Regions from separate parts of the Homo sapiens genome. Here region 2 is linked to region 1. The links are contacts of gene promoters, found by promoter capture Hi-C in human tissues and cell types (Jung and others, 2019). All regions are on one chromosome and are shown on one strand. The core of a region is centred on a gene start or on the middle of the fragment in contact, and the rest is flanking DNA. Distances in the headings are between cores, read along the strand shown. Region 1 holds the start of PDE3A (phosphodiesterase 3A). Region 2 overlaps PDE3A (phosphodiesterase 3A).

Region 1 (3,882 bases), core at 528-3,027:
ATTTTTGGTTTATTATTTTAATATGTTATTTTTGATGCCAACAGATATGAATGATTTTCCAATCAAGGTTTTTCACTCCGATGTGTCCCAGGTAGGATCTGGCATATGAATCATATGTCTAAAAAGGAAACTCATGAAAGTATGTGTGCGTGCTAGGGGGCTCATTTGTCTTTGGCAAAGACATTGCTGCTCCTGTTTCCTTAATTATTAAACAGATGGTGCCCACTGCCATTGACTAGCTGCCCAACTCATACTCCTGTGTGGTAGCACAATTCTGGACATCTGACAGAGAGAAGCTATACCTTTATAGTATATCTGCCTTCTACTAGAACAGGCTGCTTCCCATGAAGCTGTTTAAAACTTAAGTCATCTTCTCCCCCTGTCCCCATAAATTAATTTTATCTCAAGGATCTCCTTTTGGCTTTTTTTATTGCTTCATGTCTACATACAAAATACAGTGGCATATTGAATCAATTATCTAAATGCTCTAGGCTGTAAATACACTTTAACCTGGAATGTCAAGATAATTAAGACAAAATTGGATTATTAAGATTATTATTAGTGAGGGCAAATGACATCTAAGATAGCCATGTTAAAAGTGGAGTATCATATTAAAAAGACAACTAGATCCCAGGGAACATCAATAGAGTTTAAGTCCATTGAACAGATACTGAATTCTTTTTCATAATCTGCCAAAAAAAGGTTAGCTTGAAAATTTTCTTTTAGTTTCTCAAATATCACACTGCTGCAGTACACGAACCTTTACTCATTAATAACTAAGGTCCTGATTTTTTTCATATGCTTTGCTCGAAGATGTAGTATTTTGCAGCCATAGACAGTCTTCTAAGATCTCTCCTAGTGTTAACCCACCTATCCTCACCTCTCCCTTGAGATTTTTCTTTATTTTTTGATGAACTATCTGGGCTTTTAAACTTTGTTAACCTTTTTTGAGGATACGGTCACTTAATCTCAATGTAATTTTACTTTCCACAGTCAAAAACTATTGTGTAATACTCATGCACTGGATTTAAATGACTGCTGCCTCTCCTTCCTTTCTTTTTATACTATTGTGGTCTAGGTAAGGCTGATTCTTCCATCATTTGAACCAACAGGCCAGGCTTGGGTTCTCATAAAGCAGACCTTCCAGCAGGAGCGACCAAAGGATGACACTGTCACCTGAAATTGGACTGCTGTTGTACCTGACTTGGGAACATCTTTGAATCAGACAGTAGAAGTGGCTGTCATTTTCAGGGACAGTAGAAAGTATGTTGGCTCTCATCTGCCAAGTAGGCAAACACAATCTTTTTTTTTTTTTTTTCCTTCCAACGTTCTAGGGAGCTCAGCCTCAGGGCTAGCCGCAGCCCCCCACACCCCGGGGCTGCGGTGGGCTGCGCGGTGGATCAGCCTCAGCAGCCCCTGCTCCAGCCTGTAGGGTGAACCGGCCGCTTTCCCAGCAAAGGAGCAATCGAGCTGAGGGTAGCGCCTCCTCCGCAGGAGGGGGCGGGAGCTCGGCTGAGAAAGCTTTCCTAGGGAGTTGCCTTAAAGAAAGAAAGCGGAATTGTCGATCACTCCAGTTGCCAGTTTTATACAATTTTAAGCAGTCGTCGCCACTCGTTTCCCCTTTGCAAAACTGCAAATCACCACCAACCTTGCATCAAATAGAAGTGGGGAGGGAAAAAAAAAGCAAATCTCCTTCTCCCTTCTCACCCTCCCTTTCTTCTCACCCTCCCTTCCTCTCTTACTCGCTCCTTCTCCCTCCCTCCCTTCTGCGGCTGCCGCTAGTCTCTCGGTCTGGCTCTCTCTCCGACGGGACTTAGCAACTTCTTATTTCTCAGCCCCTTGTCCATTTTTTTTTTTCCATCCTTTGCCATGAATTGGATTGACAGAGGCGGGGGAGGCTTTGCTTTCTGCCCCAGGGAATGGCGATTCGCGTCCTGGGGCCGTGCCGGGGAGAATCGGCCGAGGAGAAAGAAAGAGTGATAGAAAAAGAGCTGCAGGAAGGAGGAGAAGGGAGACCTCCATCTGCCGCGGGCCCGGCGCGCTGCAGCGCAGCGCAGCGCCGAGCTGCGCCTCGGAATGGCCCGGAGCCCGCCCTGCGCCCCCGGCTCCTCCAGCGTCAGCGGCTCCTGCGCGCGGGATGCATTGGGCAATTTTTGAAATCCTGAAGTAGGAAGAGACCCCGGAGGATATAAGTCGGGGGTGGGGGTGGAGCAGAGAATCTGTGAAAGATATTCAAAGAGAGAAAAGGGGAATCCTGATCGTTTCTGCCCGTGCTTGTTTTCAACTTGAGCGTGCTAGCCTTTAACTTGAAGAAGTCTCATTGGAGCATCTAGCATTCTCCAGGAGTTATTCGAAAGCTGAAACTTTCAGTGGATTGTGGGCCTGGGGAGAAGAAGGATTCCGAGGGTGGAATTGGGAAGAGCGTGCGTGCGTGTGTGTGTGTGTGTGTGTGCGCGCGCGCGCGTGGGTCGGGGCGGGGGCGTCGGGGGGCCACTGGGAATTCAGTGAAGAGGGCACCCTATACCATGGCAGTGCCCGGCGACGCTGCACGAGTCAGGGACAAGCCCGTCCACAGTGGGGTGAGTCAAGCCCCCACGGCGGGCCGGGACTGCCACCATCGTGCGGACCCCGCATCGCCGCGGGACTCGGGCTGCCGTGGCTGCTGGGGAGACCTGGTGCTGCAGCCGCTCCGGAGCTCTCGGAAACTTTCCTCCGCGCTGTGCGCGGGCTCCCTGTCCTTTCTGCTGGCGCTGCTGGTGAGGCTGGTCCGCGGGGAGGTCGGCTGTGACCTGGAGCAGTGTAAGGAGGCGGCGGCGGCGGAGGAGGAGGAAGCAGCCCCGGGAGCAGAAGGGGGCGTCTTCCCGGGGCCTCGGGGAGGTGCTCCCGGGGGCGGTGCGCGGCTCAGCCCCTGGCTGCAGCCCTCGGCGCTGCTCTTCAGTCTCCTGTGTGCCTTCTTCTGGATGGGCTTGTACCTCCTGCGCGCCGGGGTGCGCCTGCCTCTGGCTGTCGCGCTGCTGGCCGCCTGCTGCGGGGGGGAAGCGCTCGTCCAGATTGGGCTGGGCGTCGGGGAGGATCACTTACTCTCACTCCCCGCCGCGGGGGTGGTGCTCAGCTGCTTGGCCGCCGCGACATGGCTGGTGCTGAGGCTGAGGCTGGGCGTCCTCATGATCGCCTTGACTAGCGCGGTCAGGACCGTGTCCCTCATTTCCTTAGAGAGGTTCAAGGTCGCCTGGAGACCTTACCTGGCGTACCTGGCCGGCGTGCTGGGGATCCTCTTGGCCAGGTACGTGGAACAAATCTTGCCGCAGTCCGCGGAGGCGGCTCCAAGGGAGCATTTGGGGTCCCAGCTGATTGCTGGGACCAAGGAAGATATCCCGGTGTTTAAGAGGAGGAGGCGGTCCAGCTCCGTCGTGTCCGCCGAGATGTCCGGCTGCAGCAGCAAGTCCCATCGGAGGACCTCCCTGCCCTGTATACCGAGGGAACAGGTAAGCACTGGCAACTCCTCTCTCGGCTCTTGGAAACTTGAAACACTTGGCAACCGGCGCAGAGTGGAGAGAATCCGAGCGCTGGGAACTAAAGGGAAGATAGCCTAGAAAACTGGTCTAACTTCAGAATTAAGAAACTAGCAGGTTTTTTTTTTGTTTTTTTTGTTTTTTTTTTTTTGTTTTTTTGCCCTCTCTTTCACACAGTAGTTTTATAACCTGAACGACTGAAACACAATTAACAAAACTAGATGGCATGTGTAGGGTCTTCCACAGCTGGGCCAACTTTTTAGATCTGCTACACCTGGTGTATGGCTTGCCTACTCTTTTCAGTACTCTTACGCTTTCCTTCCTTAGCAGAAATTTTAGAATTAAGTTTAGATTTTAGCAATGAGTGATT
Region 2 (3,882 bases), core at 685-3,184, 40 kb after region 1:
CTGAAGTTGAGCACCTTTTCATGTACTTGTTGGCCATTTGTATGTCTTCTTTAAAAATAGTTCTTTGCCCATTAAATCAAGTTACTTATTTTTTGCTGTTGTATAAGTTCCCGATATATTTTGGATATTAATCTCTTATTGGGTGTATGATGTGCAGTTATTTTCTCCTATTCTGTAGGTTGCATTTTCATTTCATTGATCACTTCCTTTGTTGTGGAGAAGCCTTTTAGTTTGATGGAGTCCTACTGGTTTACTTTTGCTTTTGTTGCCTATGCTTTCGGTGTCATACCCATAAAATCATTGCCAATACGAACGTCTTTTTCTGTGTTTTATTAGAGGAGTCTTATGGCTTCAGGTCTTACATTTAAGTCTTTAGTTCATTTTGAGCTAATTTTGTGTATGGTTAAGATAACAGTCAATATTATTTTTGTGTGTATGGATATACAGTTTTCCAAGCACCATTTATTAAAGACATATTCTTTCCCCATTGTTTATTCTGTGCCCTTGTTAAGGATTAGGTGACCGCATGTGCATAGGTTTATTTCTGGGCTCTCTGTTCTGTTCTATTGGTCTATGTGATAGACATCCTGTCTTATGCTGCTTTTCTGCCTTATTGGAGGCAAAAGTCACTGGTATACTATACAGTTTGGGATCAGCATAGATGTTGATTACAGGCTCTGTGATCTAGAGAAAGTTACTTAGCATCTCTGTGCCTTTTCATTCTCTATTTAATGGGTACAATATTTCCTATCTCCAAATGTTATTACTTAATCTTGAGATAATTTGCTTACAGCATCTGTCAAAGTGCCAAACATATAGCAGGTACACAATATAATTTTGTTTTCCTCATAAATACATGGTTAGGTTCAGCATGGTTATTCATGAAAAACTTTTTTTAAAAAATTGAACAACTGAATAAATTCTAATTGAATGGCTGAATTATTTGAAAGGCAAAAAAGGCAGGCAATAAAGTTAGTCTGAAGTATCTTCATGTAGGTATTCTTGGTGTAGAAGTGTAGTAACTCTAAATCTAGCAAAACAAGCTTTATTCCCATATACTGTAGCTGATTACCAAGTTCCCAGAGGGAGGTTGGTGGTGCTTTGGGGTCCAGTTTATTAGATTGGATTAGATGGGGTAGATGCAAGAAGATATACCAGCATTCCCAATTCCTTCCAATACAAAGATTTTGTGGCTTATTAAATTTTTAAGTGATTATGGAGTACTTAATTTTAGCTTTTTATAAACTTATAAATTTTTTTAAAAACTATTTCCAGTTGGCTTTCATATGTTTTTCATAGTATAGATATAGCATATTACATATCTATATTGACTACATGAAGAAAAGCAACTAGTGTGTAAAAATTAATTTTTTTGTTTTTGTTGAATGTCATTGTTTCAGACTTCTCTTGTACTGAAGTGTAGTAAAATGTATTTTCTATTTTTATTTATTTATTTATTTTGAGACTAAATGTTGCTCTGTCCCCCAGGCTGTAGTGCAGTGACTTGATCTTGGCTCACTGCAACCTCCGTCTGCCTCCTGGGTTGAAGCAATTCTGCCTCTGCATCCTAAGTAGCTGGGACTACAGGTGCGCGCCACCACGCCCAGCTAATTTTTGTATTTTTAGTAGAGATGGGGTTTCACCTTATTGGTCAGGCTGGTCTCGAACTCCTGACCTTGTGATCCACCCGCTTCAGCCCCCGAAAGTGTTGGGATTACAGGCGTGAGCCACCATGCCTGGCCAATGTGTTTTCTTTCAAATAAAACTTTATTAGAAAAATCATGTATTATAACTAATATTTTAGAAATCTATAAGAGTATGGCTGAAGTTAAAAATTTAAACAAGTGTTATTAGTCTTCCTACATAAAATATTGGTATGGAATCTGCATACCTTAAATAAAAGCTTGTAGTTACAAAACTTTATATTCTTAGTAATATTGTATACTCTAGTTTAATTTACATGGCTGTTTGGCTCTGTTAATGATAGAAAACCCTTCATTATTAAGGACAGCACTTCACAGAAAATTGACTGAAGCTAACTTTAACTTGCAGATGGCGTTCATTAAAGAGTTTCTTTTCATAAGGGTCATTTTTCATTTTTATTTCAAAGATTAAATGGATTTATACATAATTATTTCAACATGACATCTGTTCTCATTTTTTCCTTTCAGAGCTTTCTTCCCAAATATTCCATGTTTGTATTTTGTAAACCATACAAACAAGTTTTAAAGGAAAATATATAATCCTGAGTGATTACATAATTTATTGCCGTTCTCTATCTTATGCTTTTAATTTTATTTAATGCATGTCTTAAGTTTTTCAACAGACTTTTCTAAATGCCATGATAATATTAAGCTCTGTGACAACATTAATTATGTGTACATATATTATTTCGATTGCACAGTTTTTGAGTGCAATGATGGATCCATTGAGAATGAGGATTCTGGAAAGCTCTAAAAGAGTGGCTTGTGTATTTTTCCTTCTTCCTTTTTACCCGCTTTCCTCTCTCCCTCCCTTTCTTCTGGAAATGGGAATTTTTTTAATGAAATTTCATGCAAATTCAATGAATGAATGGTAAAACAAATCTGATCCAAACTATTGACAGAAGTGGAGGCAGGCACAGAACTCCAGCCTCTTCATCATCTCCTCATTTCCTCCTGAATTCCTTTTCATGTAGTTTCTTGGACAGATGCATCTGGAATCTGAAAGTAATATTTAATAGAGTATTCACATTCTTAATAGTTGTTATATTTGTAAGTCAGCGACACAGGTTGAAGCCACAAGCAATATTTAGTCTTGAATAGGTTTTACTTTTTAAAATTCTATTTGAGCTTTTTTCTTTTTTATTAATTGTGGTCATTTCTACAACTCTTTCTAGAAAACTGTATTTCTCAGATTTGAATATATTTGTTATTATTAGCTCTCTTATTTAAAGATGAACTAAGTTTCTTAAGGACAAAAAAGAAAATAATTTTTACCTACAATTTGATACTATGTAGAGAGAACATTTTCTTTCAGAAATGATCAAAATTGTGAAATCTTTGATAGATGGAAGAAAGTAGTTGTCTTTGCTTGTAATGAATACTTTCAAAATAAAGTCGCTGAATAAAAATAGTGATCTTACGAAATATTATAGTTGGATATCATCAGAGAGGTGATATTATAAATCTTCTACCCCAGATAATGATTTTTTAATAGTCTTTCTGTTACAAATGTTTAGTCACTACTGAAATACATTATATGAAAGAGAGCTCACCACAAATCAAACCAATACAAAGGAGTATTACAAGGAAAAAGGCTTTGAATCCAAGTGCACATTGGAGCAAGCTGCTATTCTTTTACAGATTAACTATTTGTTATTGCGCATTCAGCAAATTCCTTAGCTTTTGGTCTTCTGTCTACTAAAGGAAAATTTAAATTCCAGCTCTGCAAGTTTGTTGAGTAATAATATAAATGGATTATCTCATAGACAAATGTTTTAAAATAAAATATTGCTATAGGATACTTGCTATATTGAACCAAAAACTGCCTTGTAACTTTGACTCCTTTGTCCTAGTGTTTATTTTCTATCCTACATGTCTGTTAGGATTCCCAAGTCTTGCTGTCCCCAGGCTAAAGCTATTCATTGAATTCAACTGTCCATTGTCTGACCTCATTTTCATATTCCTTAAACATTGCTCTTCCCTGGGATGCACTAGTTAAATCTTATTGTGGTATTGGGCTATCCTTTTTTGTAGCCATCCTCAGGGAAGCCACACTTGTTTGGCATGACCCTGTTGTCTTGGCTGCACTCAATTGTACGTCCCCAAGCTGAGCAGTGAGATTCTGATTCAGGCATTCAGTATTGGGACCAAGGGAGAGTTAAGTTAGTCTTTTCCAACA

Evidence for each region. The method cuts DNA at HindIII sites, captures the fragments that hold promoters and counts their contacts. A contact is called where the count stands out against the background at its distance.
Region 2: a fragment that was not itself captured here is called in contact with the fragment with the promoter of PDE3A in region 1 in 1 of the 25 tissues and cell types used here (liver).

What each region holds. Positions count from the first base shown.
Region 1 is chr12:20,366,760-20,370,641 of GRCh38, forward strand. PDE3A (phosphodiesterase 3A) reads left to right here and starts at 1,778. Exons shown (of 16, transcript NM_000921.5): 1 at 1,778-3,485. The coding sequence starts at 2,526. It overlaps PDE3A-AS1 (PDE3A antisense RNA 1), which reads right to left and starts at 3,497. Exons shown (of 2, transcript NR_186033.1): 1 at 3,082-3,497. RefSeq lists a silencer at 2,816-3,110. The HindIII fragment of the contact is 7,833 bases long and covers 1-3,882 here.
Region 2 is chr12:20,406,477-20,410,358 of GRCh38, forward strand. The region is part of intron 1 of PDE3A (phosphodiesterase 3A); the gene reads left to right. Among named protein-coding and RNA genes, the nearest start is that of PDE3A-AS1, 38 kb to the left of the region's middle. The HindIII fragment of the contact is 3,857 bases long and covers 7-3,863 here.